Linked DNA regions of Homo sapiens: region 2 is linked to region 1. Evidence: promoter capture Hi-C in 16 types of primary human blood cells and fetal thymus (Javierre and others, 2016). All regions are on one chromosome and are shown on one strand. Each heading gives the region's core, a stretch centred on a gene start or on the middle of the fragment in contact. The rest is flanking DNA. Distances are from core to core; before and after follow the strand shown.

Region 1 (6,022 bases), core at 1,567-4,066:
CCAGGACTCTGACTCCCCAAGAGGGAGAACCCTGTGCCAGGTTGCCCCCATTCCTGGGCCAGGCACGGGCTCTCCAGGCTTGACCTATATGGGGCCTTGCCCCTGCTGTCAGCAGCTCATGTGCTGGGTTGGGCCACGAGGGCCGAGGCCAGGCCTCCTGTGGAACACCCAGCAGAGATGTAGCCTCAGGATCCCTGACCTCTGAGAGGGAGTAGAGCCAGGGGCACTATGGGGCTGGGACTCCCCCACACCTCAACTCCCAGAGCCTGCCATGTGACCATGAGGCCACAACATCAGGGGTGGAGCAAGGCTGGCGCTCTGTCCCTGCGAGTCCCGGGGGATCACACCCAAACCAGCTTGGCAAGGACTCTGGCTGCTCCACTTCCTGAATGACAACACACACTCAGAGGGGCGATGCCTTGCTCCTGGTCACGCTGGATCCAGATTTTGAGGCCACTTTCCCTCCTATACCTCAACTCAGGAAAGAAACAATGCGGGGAGCTGTCCCTAGGGAGCGAGAGCTCAGGCTTGGCCCCAGCCTCAACCACCGCTGCCCCAACCCAACCCGCGCCGAGCCCCTGGCCTGAGGGTGTGGGAACCCCAGCTGCTGAAGGAGCTGCATACAGGTGTCTGGAGGCGCCTCTCAAGTCAGCCAGCGTGGCAGGTCAGGAGGAGACAGGGCAGGGGACGTGAGGGCAGGGGATGCAGGGTGGAGGGCGCACAGCGGGCTGGGTGAGTACCATGTTGATGCCCATGGAGGTGAAGCTGAGGCTCGTGGTGCTGGGTTCCAGGTGTCCCCGGTGATGAGAGACTGACAGGGGACGGGACAGAAGGGGACTCCTGAATGTCCCCTAGGGCTGCCATCTTCCCTGAGACCTGCTGAAGGTGTCACACCTGGGACCTGGGGAAAATGAAAACCATGGCAGATGAGGGGATTGGGAGGAATGTCGGGGGGATGGTGCAGGAGGAGGCAACATGCCAGCTCTCCAAGGGGAGATGGAGGTTTATCCACTCCAGGAGGAGCAAGGATGGAGGATGAACCCACAGAGACACATAGGCCTGGGGTGAGGCAGTTGGGGGACCTGGCACATTTATTCAGTAAGGAATAACGCTTTGAGTGGCTGGGGACGGTGGCTCATGCCTGTAATCCCAGCACTTTGTGAGGCCGAGGTGGGTAGATCATGAGGTCAGGAGTTTGAGACCAGCCTGTCTAATATGGTGAAACCCCATCTCTACTAAAAATATAAAAATTAGCTGGGCGCAGTGGCGGGCACCTGTAATCCCAGCTACTTGGGAAGCTGAGGCAGGAGAACAGCTTGAAATCAGGAGGTGGAGGTTGCAGTGAGCCGAGATGGCGCCCCTGCACTCCAGCCTGGGAGACACAGCAAGACTCAAACAACAGCAGCAGCAGCAGCAGCAGCAAAGGAGTAACGCCTTGGAAGGCGCGCTTAGGAAGCAGCCACCGCCTGGGCGGCACAGCAGACGCCTGTGGGGGCTGAAGCGAAGCTCCTGTCCCAGCAGAGGCTCTGGCATCTCCTTCCAGCCCGTGGCATCACCCCTCCCCCAGAGAAAGGCATAGGGAGTCTTCCAGAAAAACCTCAGCTGCTGGCCCTGTGGGAGGGCTGAAAACCGAACCATGCCTGCTGCGCATGAGTGTTTTGGAGGAAATCTTAATAAGGTTTTTCCCGAACAGCAGAGAAGAGACGTTTCCAGAGGGCAACTCTCTTCCTCAGACCCTACAGAGCCCTCAGAGACTGCAGGCTGGAATCCCCTAGTCCAGCCCTGCAGCAGCACTGGGAGACTCACTCAGGGCTCCAAGACACTTCTTAGTTTACTTTGCAAAAACGGCTTGAGTCCAATGTGAAAAGTGACTTTTCTTTCATACTGTGATAGAGTAGGAACTCCTAATCTGGGGCAGGGAGTGAAGAAAGGAACGGGAAAAGAGGACAAAAGTTAACGGATACTCAGATCTAAGAACAGCAGACAGTGCCTGCTTCGAGGAAGTGGGAGAGGCAGCTCCCACACGGCCGCCACCCCAGTGCCCGGCTTCTGGGCCAGCCTCCATCCCCTAATGATGGGAAGGGTCAGGTCACCAGGTAGGTGGCCACTGGGTGCAGGTCCTCCACCCTGAAGTCACATCTCAAGTTACTTAGTTAACTTACTGGGGACACCTGGTAAAAGGGCCTGCTCGATCACCCCGACCCTGGCTTGGCCCCCAGGACTGAGCAGAGGCGACCATCACAGCGTGGACGCCCCTTCACCCCCAGGGACGCACAAACTCTGAGCTCCAGACTGAAGGGGGAAGGGCACTCCTGCCAGCGGCTCGGGGGAAGCATCCTCTGCCCCTCTGTTCCCAGCCCCGTGGGAGCGGACCCAATCGCCGGGAGCTCGGCACAGAGCGCGTCCGCCCGGCGGTGCGGCGCTGGGGTCCGGCGGCTCCTCGCTCCGGAGCGGCGGGACCTCCGGGCCTCAGTTTCCCATCTGCAGAGTGGCGATGACGACAGCTGCCGTCACTGGGTGCCTGGGAAAGGCGCCCTGCGAACGGACACCCGCTATCGCCAGGGCCGCTGGGCGGGGCGGTCCGCTGCTGCTCCGCGACCCCCAGGAGCCCACCCCGCTCCCCGGGCTTGGCCCAAGGCCAAGGTCACGGCGAGCGGCGGCTGCAAGGGCCGCACGGCCCGGCTGGGCAGGGCTGCACCGCGGAGTACGGCGCACGAGCTCGGACTGGGCTGGTCCCAGGCACCCGGAGCCGCCGCCGCCGCCCGCGCCCACTCACCTTCCGAGCGGGAGGAGGACGCCGCGCGCCGGACGGAAGTGTCCGGCCCCGCCCCACTCCGCCCGGCCGGCGCGCACTTCCGGGACGCTCTGGGCCCCGGGAGGACCGCACGCCTCGGTGGCCGTGTGGGGGCGGGGCCGGGAGCGAAGAGGAGGCCTTTCCCCGCCCCTCCCCTCGTGGGCTGCGCCCGCGCGTGGCTTTCGCGTACACGCTGGCCCGGATCCCGCCCGCGCCTGCAAAGCGCCCGGGCGCGGGGAGCGGCGCTGCGTGGGGCGCAGAAGCCGGCGCCTCGGAGCCTCCTTCCCGACGCCGGCCCTGCACCGCCCGGGGAGCCAGCGCGGGGCCGGGCTTCGGGAGATGACGGCGCCGTCCCCACGCTGCCCGCGGCCCCTCCGTGCACTCCAGGCCTCCGGGGGTCCTCGGCTGGAGTTGCTTCCACGTTCAGCTCGCGAGTCCCCCCCGCCGCCCTCTTGGGTTCCCTCCTCGGGATGTGTCCGCAGCGATGGTCACCGGCGGCCGGGAACCGCTGCGAGACGCGCGACCTCCCGCTCCCCTCGCGGGGGCCCCAGCGCCCTCGATTCTGCCTGCTTTCCAGGGGCGTCCCCGGGAGCCTGAGGAGGATGTTACAGGTTCCCCAAAGCCCCTTCATGGACTCCTTCCTCATTTTCCTCTTGTTCAGCCACAGTTTCTCCCTCAGTTCTGTGCTTACGACCTGAAAAGAGAAAATTGTCACTTTCTGGGAAAAATAAACGGCCGGGGAGGGTTCTTTGACCGTTTTGAGCAGGGGTGCAGAGAGCCGAGGCGAGGGGACCCCTGAGCTGGAGGGGCACGCGGAGCAGAGGGCGGGGGGGCCTGCAGACGGGCAACAGCTGCCAGGGTGGACGCTCAGGGCTGTGTGGGTGGAGGAGCCCCCAGGCTGATAATATGTAAAAATCTCTAAACTCTACCGCAAGAAAACAAACATTCCAGTTAGAAAATTGGCAAGAGCCGCAACAGACGTTTGACCGAAGAGGGCACAGGGATGGCAATAGGCTCGGGAAGGGATGGCTGTCAGGGAAGGGCCGGCCAGCATCGCGGTGGGTGCCACTGCACACTTGCCAGGTGGCTCAGGTAAAAACTGCTAACAAGTGCCAAGCATCACTGAGGTCGCGGAGCAGCTTGGGACATCGCCAGTGGTAAGGCAAAGTGGTGCTGCCATTCTAGAAATTGGCTTGGTAGTTTCTTAAAAAGTTATAAGTAGCGCCGGGCGCAGTGGCTCACGCCTGTAATCCCAGCACTTTGGGACACTGAAGTGGGTGGATCACCAGAGGTGGGGAGTTTGAGACCAGCCTGACCAACAGGGAGAAACCCCATCTCTACTAAAAATATAAAAAAGCTACCCGGACACGGTGGCGGGCACCTGTAATCCCAGCTACTTGGGAGGCTGAGGCAGGAGAATCACTTGAACCGGGAGGCGGAGGTTGCATTGCGCCGAGATCGCGCCACTTCACTCCAGCCTGGGCAACAGAATGAGACTCTGTCTCAAAAAAAAAAAAAAAAAAAAGGAACTAGTACTATATCTGATACTGTTTGGAAGTGAGCCCCCTGCACATCTCATGGAAATGTGGCCCCTGATGGTGGCGGTGGGACCTGGTGGGAGGCTATTTGGGTCATGAGTAGCTTGGTGCCCTCTCCTTGGTGATGAGTGAGAGCTGGCTGTTAAAAAGAGCCTGGCGCCTCCGCCCCTCTCTTGCTCTGGCTCTTACCAAGTGACGGATGCCCTGGCTCCCACTTTGCCTTCTGCTGTGAGTAAAAGCTTCCTGAGCCCTCCCCAGAAGCCTCTTCTTGTACAGTATGACCAGGGACAGCAGCACCCTCTGAACGCTGATCTGAACTGTGAGCCAAGCAAACCCCTTTTGTTCTTTATTTACTTTTGAGATGGAGTTGCCGCTCTTGTTGCCCAGGCTGGAGTGCAATTGGTGCGATCTCGGCTCACTGCAATCTCCGCCTCCCAGGTTTAAGTGATTCTCCTGCCTCAGCCTCCCAAGTAGCTGGGATCACAGGCATGCGCCACCATGCCCGGATAATTTTGTATTTTTAGTAGAGACGGGGTTTTGCCATGTTGGCCAGGCTGGTCTTGAACTCCTGACCTCAGGTGATCCACCCGCCTCAGCTTCCCAAAGTGCTGGGATTACAGGCGTGAGCCACTGCGCCCAGCTCCTCTTTTTTCTTTTCTTTTTTTTTTTTTTGAGACGGAGTCTCGCTCTGTGGCCCAGGCTGGAGTGCAGTGGCGCGATCTTGGCTCACTGCAAGCTCCGCCTCCCGGATTCATGCTATTCTCCTGCCTCACCGTCCTGAGTAGCTGGGACTACAGGCGCTCACCAACTTACCCAGTCTCAGGTATTCCTTTATAGCAGTGCAAAATGGACAAACACAGAACTACATCAGGAGAGCGGCGGACGACAATGCAATTGACTCGATGACAGGCTGCAGCTGCATTGCACCAGGCTGTGCAGACTCATTTTTGGGGGCAGCTGTGTCTTTGTATGTAGTTCTTGACGTCCTGTCACACGCACAGGCTGTTCTGTCACACACACAGGCTGTTGTCACCAGCTCCCTGTGCATCCAGCGCATCACGGGAAGCTGAGTCACCCAAGCTACCGTCCATGTCGGCTGACCCATGAGAAGCTGTGGAGCGTCTCACTCCCCAGGCCCTTTGGACAAATCCTCAGCCTGGCCAGCTCACAGGAGTGAAGGGAGATGGGAACGGGTGTAATCAGAGTGGAAGAATCCCCTTCCCCCACCAGGGAGGTGTGAAGGTGACGGGCAGGGCTTTGGAGGGAGTGCAAAGGTTGCTGATTTAATGAGCTCGGAGCCAGCAGCCAGTCTGGTCTGTTGGAGCAGCAGGTCCCCGCTCCTCACCTCGAGCAGGGTTTTGTTGGGTATTCACTGTAAATAATGAGCTAGTGTTTGTTATGCTGGGAGGAGGGGTTCCAGCCCAAACAGCCCCAGAGCCCCTGGTCCTAAGACGTGGGAGTCGGCCCACAGCCAGCCCCCCCAGCCTGTTGTCTTGATTTGTCCTCTTGGACTGTGGATTAGAAAAGGCCTCCATGGGCTTCTTTTGTTGAGATCGGGGAATCCAGTGCCTGTTCAGATACCCACACAGGCATGGCCTGCTCCAGCCAGTGCTGCTGGGGTTGGGGTGAGGGTGCCATCTGGACGGGCAGTGCCCTTGTCTCTAGGGGTCCCTGTGGGAACCTTCAAAGC
Region 2 (6,217 bases), core at 511-3,010, 140 kb after region 1:
GGGTGCATTTGCCTGGCATCCTGCGGGGCCGTTGTCCAGCCCGAGTTGGCAAATCCCTAAACGCCCCCAGAGCAGGGGCCTGACTCCTTTTTCACTCCTTTTCAGCTCCCGCATTAGGGAGGTTGCCTGTCCTGCCTCCACCTGTGTGGCGTGGGGAAGCTGATTTACAAACAGCAGAAGGGCCCCCGGCATGGGAAGAGTCCGGGCCAGGCAGCCTGCTCTGCCGGCTGGGGGACCGCCTGATGCAGGGGCCAGGCCAGGAGGTCCGCGGGGGCTGCTTTACAGCCCTCTGGGCAGCAAAGCAAGCTGGTCTCTGTGCAGCCCACTCCCTGCCATTCCCCACCATGCCCCTCCTATGTCCCTCCCATGCCCTGCCATTCCCCGCCATGCCCCTCCCATTCCCCCGCCATTTGCCGCCATTCCTCACCATTCCCCTCTCGTTCCCTGCCATTCCCCGCCATGCCCCTCCTATGTCCCTCCCATGCCCCTCCTATGTCCCTCCCATGCCCCGCCATTCCCCGCCATGCCTCTCCCATTCCCTCCCATTCCCTTCCATGCCCCTCCCATTCCCCCGCCATTTTTCGCCATTCCCCACCATTCCCCTCTCATTCCCCGCCATTCTCTGCCATGCCCTACCATGCCCCGCCATGCCCCTCCTATGTCCCTCCTATGTCCCTCCCATGCCCCTCCCATGCCCCGCCATTCCCCGCCATTCCCCACCATACCCCTCACATGCCCTGCCATTCCCCGCCCAGACCCTTGGTAACCTGGTCCCTGTCACCCATGCCCCGCTGGGCCCCTCACTGTTGCCGCTGGACATTAAACCCGCCAAGGGGCTTTCATGGGTTGCCCCTCTTTCTCCAGTGCTTCTTCACGCCACCTGGGACGTGGCCAACTTTTCTGGTGTCGGGATCATCTAACGCTCTTCCATGCACAAGAGTTCCAATGACCCACCCACCCAAGCTTCCTTCCCCCATCCCCTACCACTCCTCCAATACCCGTGGGTGCTGCCGGGAAGGGGCGTTGCAGATGTGCCGTGTGTCCCAGGTCAGCCGACCTTAGGGTCCGTGGATGCAGGTGGGCCTGGTCGAATCACGCCAGCCCTTTAAAAGCAGAAGAAGAGTCAGAGGCCAGGGAAGAGTGCTGTGGGGCCGTGCGAGATGGCAGCCTGAACGGTGGAGACCAGGTCCTGCTGACCGCCAGCAAGGAGACGGAGAATGCAGCTCTACAGCCGGGAAAAGAGTCTGCCATCCATCCGAACAGCCCTGGGCCTCCACCCAGGAGCCCAGCTGTCACACCTCAACTGCAGTCTGTGAGACCCCGCCCAGCCGAGCCCTCGCACTCCTACCCCTCTGGAGCTGCCAGGCAGTCAACAGGCACTGACCCACACTGTGGGGTTGTGGTGGCTCGTAGTGCAGCGAGGGCCCCAGCACGGGCATCTTCCCAGCACGGCTGCCAGCTCACGGTGGTCTCCCAGGCAACATGAAAGAAATGCATCAGGTAGCCCCTGGGCCCCAAACGTGATTTGCATTTCTGCCAAAAGCCAATCTTTTCTGACCAAGACCTGGGCCCTCCCAGTAGCACCTGAGTGGCCCCGTGGGCTGCCTGGGCCATGTCCCAGCTTGTTTCTGGGCAGGGCCCTTTCACATCGAGGTCTTTCCCCCAGTGACACTGTGACTAGAATCACAGGATTTCTGGATGAGGAATGTAATTTTGCAAAAACCTATACAGTTTCAGTCTTAGGGGCTTCTGTTTAGTGGCAACATTGGTGTCAATGGCATTAAATTAGGCGTCCCCTTGTTCACCGTAAAGCCAGCCTAGGGTCACCTGCACTTGTAACTTCCCAACAGCTTTGGAAGCAAGATGCCATTTGTGGGTTGGTGGGGGGCAGTCACTCCTCTCAGGGTAAAACCCCCACCTTTGCCACCTGCAGCAAGTGACGTATGGACCCACCTGGAAGCATTTGATCACAAGAGCTTGCAGCGTCTTGGGGACTGGTTCTTGGCCCTGACCATCACTTCCATGCAGTGGTATCTAGAATCAGTGGTGTGCCCGCCCCTCGCACTGATAATTTAGGAAACTGTGCCCATCCTGAGCCATCGGGCTTTGCCTGCCGCTCTCCCCAAATGTCCTGGCTCTTCTCAGAGGACCCTCGGGTTTCCGCAGCCGCCTGCCATGCCCTTCCACCCGCAGCATGGGTTTGCAGCCAGTCAGGTTTCTCAGCTGAGTTACTTTTTGGATGAATGTCACATCTGTTTAATTGGCCACTGGAGAGAGGAGACTGCACTGACCCGAGGACCGGGTCTGGTTTCTTTCTTGTGCCCCAGCTGCTTCTTCCAGTGGCCTTGTTTCTGTCTGGGTGTCAGTGGCACCTGCCATGGAAGAGCTGTTTCTCTCGCCTCCCTTGTGCCGGTCTTTGGCCAGCTCCCCGCCCCAGGTCGGCTTCCTCTCCGTCCCCTCGGTAAGGTGTGCTCCCTGTGGCCAGCCCCAAGGCTGTCAGCGTTTTGTATCAGGGACAGGTTGACAGCCACCTGGAGCCTCGTCCTCAGCAAGCTTCTCCCGCGCCCCCTTATCTTGCCTCAGAGAACCTCAGCTTAGATAATAAACAGCCATGCTGCTCGTGGTGCCCACCGGAGACAGCACGCAGAGCGGGATGGTCTCGTTTGCCTGGGAGCCAGGGGAAGCCAGGGGACCACTGGGACTGCCCACTCGCCGACCCCCACCCCCGTCCCTGACACATGGAGGCACGCTGCATCAAGGTTTAGGGTAGGAAGCTCCCCGTGGTACAGGAGGGGCAGCTCTTACCCAAAGGGGGCTCTTTCCGTTATGAAACTTTTTCCCTTTAAACTCTAGAAATTGCCAGAGGCACTGACATTTTCCAGTGGGCCGTGTGCCATAAGCCCAGATGTGTTTAATCCTGAACAGAAGGCTCTTCTGTGCTCACAGTCGACACCTCCAGGAGCTCTCATTAGCGTGTTTACAAGGACATTCTTTTCTTTTGTCTGATTTCTTTCTCCAAGAGCATCCCCAGGGGAGGATGGATGGGTTGCAAATGGTAACACTTTCCATGTGTGTACACGTGTGTGCATGTGTGAGGGTGTGTGTATACATATGTGAGGGTGTGTGGTGTGTGTGTACATTTATCAGGGTGTGTGTGAGGGTGTATGTACATGTGTGAGGGTGTGTATGTGTGTACATGAGTGTGTGGGCATGTGTATGCATGTGTGCCGATGTGTGTGTGTACATGTTTGAGGGTGTGTCCTCGTGCATATATGAGGGCATGCGTGTGCATGTACATTTGTGAGGGTGTGCATGTGTATGAGGATGTGTGTACATGTTTGAGGGTGTGTACATGTGTGAGGGCTGTGTACATGTGAGGGTGCGTGTGTATACATGTGTGAGGATGTGTGTACATTTGAGGGTGTGTGTGTACATGTGAGGGCATGTGTATGTGTGCATGTACATATGTGAGGGTGTGTGTACGTGTGGGTATGCATATGTATACAGTGTGAGGGTCTGTGTGTACATGTGAAGGTGTGTGCACATGTATGTGAATGTACGTGTGGGTGTGTGCATACATGTGTGAGGGGTGTGTACCTGTATGTGTACGTGGGGGGGTGGGGGGTACATGTGGGAGTGCATGTGTGCACGTGTGAGGGTGTGTACATGTGTGAGGGTGTGTGTGTGAGGATGCATGTGTACGTGTGACGTGTTACATGTGAGGGTGTGTTACATGTGTGGGTGCATGTACATGTGTGAGGCTGTACATGTGAGGGTGCATGTGTGTACGTGTGAGGGTGTGTACATGTGTGAGGGTGTGTGTACATGTGTGTGAGGGTGTGTACATATGTGGGTGTGTGTACGTGTGTGAGTGTGTGTGTGGGGGTGTGTGTACGAGTGTGCATGTGTACATGTTTGATGGTGTGTGCATGTACATGTGAGGGCATGTGTGTGCGTGTATGTGTGCATGTTTGAGGGGGTGTGCGTACGTGTGAGGGTGTGCATATGTATACATGTGCGAGGGTGTGTGTACATGTGTGAGGATGTGTGTACGTTTGAGTGTGTAAATGTGAGGGTGTGTGTACGTGTGAGGGTTTGTGTGCGTACATGTGTGAGGATGTATTAGGGTGTGCCTGTACATGCGAGGGCATGCATGTGTGCATGTGTGTGCATGTACATGTGTGAGGGTGTGTACGTTTGAGGGGGTGTGCGTACGTATACATGTGTGAGGGTGTGTACATGTGTGAGGGTGTGTGTACATGTGTGAGGGTGTGTGTACATGTGTGAGGATCTGTACGTTTGAGGGTGCATGTGTGTACATGTGAGGGTGTGTGTACATGTGTGAAGATGTATATGTGTTCAAGGGTGTGTGTGCGCACGTGTACACACGAGGGCATGCATGTGTGCGTGTGCATGTACATGTGAGGATGCATACATGTTTGGGGGTGTGTGCACGTGTGAGGGTGTGCATGTGTACACGTGTAAGGGTGAGTGTGTATACATGTGAGTGTACATGGTGTATTTGTACGTGTGTGTACATATGTGAGGGTTGTGTACATGTGAGGGTGTGTGCACATGTATGTGGGTGTGTGCATGGGTGTGTACGTTTATGGGTGCACGTGTACATGTGTGAGGTTGTGTGTACATGTGTGAAGGTATGTGTGTACGTGTGAGGGTGCATGTGTATGTGTGAGTGTGTACATGTGTGGGTGTATGTGTGTTTACATGTGTCATGGTGTATGTGTGTGGGGGTTTGTGTACATGTGAGGGTGTGTGCGTACATGTGAGGATGTGTACATGTGTGAGGTGTGTACATGTGAGTGTATACATGTGTGAAGGTGTACGTTTAAGGGTATACATGTGTGGGGGTGTGTACATGTGTGTGAGGGTGCGTGTGTGTATGAGTGTACGTGTGAGGGTGTGTGCACACGTGTGTACATGTGTGAGGGTGTGTGCTACGTGTGGGGGTGTGTATACATGTGTGGGGGTGTGTATACATGTGTGGGGTGCATACATTTGAGGGTGCATGTATGCACGTGTGAGGGTGTGTGTACATGTGTGGAGGTATGTGTATGTGTGAGGGTGTGTGTACATGTGTGGGTGTATGTGTAATGTGTGGGTACATGTGTGGTGTGTACGTGTGGATGTGCATACATGCGTGGGTGTGTGCATGTGTGAGCGTGTTACATGTAAGGGCATGTTACATGTGTGAGGGTGTGTGTATATATGTGATGTGTGCACATGTGTGAGGGTGTTACGTGTGTGAGGGTGTGTGCACGTGCGTGGGGGTGTGCACGTGTGTGGGGGTGTTCATGTGTGAGGGTGTGTGTTACGTGTGTGAGGGTGTGTTACGTGTGTGAGGGTGTGTTACGTGTGAGGGTGTGTATGTGTGGGTGTGTGCACGTGTGGGGTGTGTGAAGGTGTGTTACATGTGTGAAGGTGTGTATACATATATGTGGGTGTGTGGGGTGTATACGTGTATGGGTGTATACACGTGTGAGGGTGTGTGTACACGTGTGAGGGCGTGCATGTGTACCTGTGTGAGGGTGCATTTGCGTGTTTGTGCACATGTATACGCTCACATACCATATTGTGTTTGTTGATATGGGCCATGGTCAGAAAAGCTGAATGGCCGCTGGCTGAAAGGGCTGAGCTCAGTCTGTTTTCCCAGAGTTACGTCTGGCTGAACCCCGGTCATCAGCAAGGTGCGTGCCGTGACCTCACTACCGTCAGCTGCAATAGAATCGTGTGAGAAAACGCCATGGAGCTCCTTTCACTGAGCTGCACTAGGGCGTGGCGTCCAGAGGCCTATCCGAGGACAGTCACAGGAGCCCATCTCTCTGTGGACCGCGTCTCGACATCCAGGGCATGTGCTCTGCTGGGCTCATGGGCAGGAGCAGGGGTTTCCTCTCGGCTCGGCTGCTGGGAGCTCAGATTCCCGTCCCGCTCCCGCCCCGTAACCTCCACTCCGCCCTCACGGGGCTGCGGGACTCAGCCTTGAGTCGGCTCCTTCCCCACTCTTCTCCCGGTCACACCTTTATTTCTTTCCCTCGACCTTTTCCTGGACTCTTGGAGCGTTTGTTGATTGGGCTCCGTGAGCCTTGATTCTATGGCTATAGAATGGGGTCAGTGCCTGGCACCCTGGCTCTCCGGTTTGCTGACTTGTGCACAGGACCGCGCTTACCCTCAGTTCTGACTGCGGACAGAGCTGTCTGGT

What was found. Contacts are between HindIII fragments. The CHiCAGO score rates a contact against its expected background, and 5 or more counts as called.
Region 2: a contact is called between a fragment that was not itself captured here and the fragment with the promoter of GLI4 in region 1, in 2 of 17 cell types (total CD4 T cells and total CD8 T cells). The highest score is 6.3, in total CD4 T cells.

What each region holds. Positions count from the first base shown.
Region 1 is chr8:143,264,239-143,270,260 of GRCh38, reverse strand. GLI4 (GLI family zinc finger 4) reads right to left here and starts at 2,816. Exons shown (of 4, transcript NM_138465.4): 1 at 2,777-2,816; 2 at 741-901. The coding sequence starts at 864. RefSeq lists enhancers at 162-351, 978-1,800 and silencers at 2,361-2,480, 2,641-3,350. The HindIII fragment of the contact is 18,516 bases long and covers 1-4,573 here.
Region 2 is chr8:143,122,088-143,128,304 of GRCh38, reverse strand. No RefSeq gene overlaps it. Among named protein-coding and RNA genes, the nearest start is that of LY6H, 35 kb to the left of the region's middle. RefSeq lists an enhancer at 852-1,411. The HindIII fragment of the contact is 1,590 bases long and covers 966-2,555 here.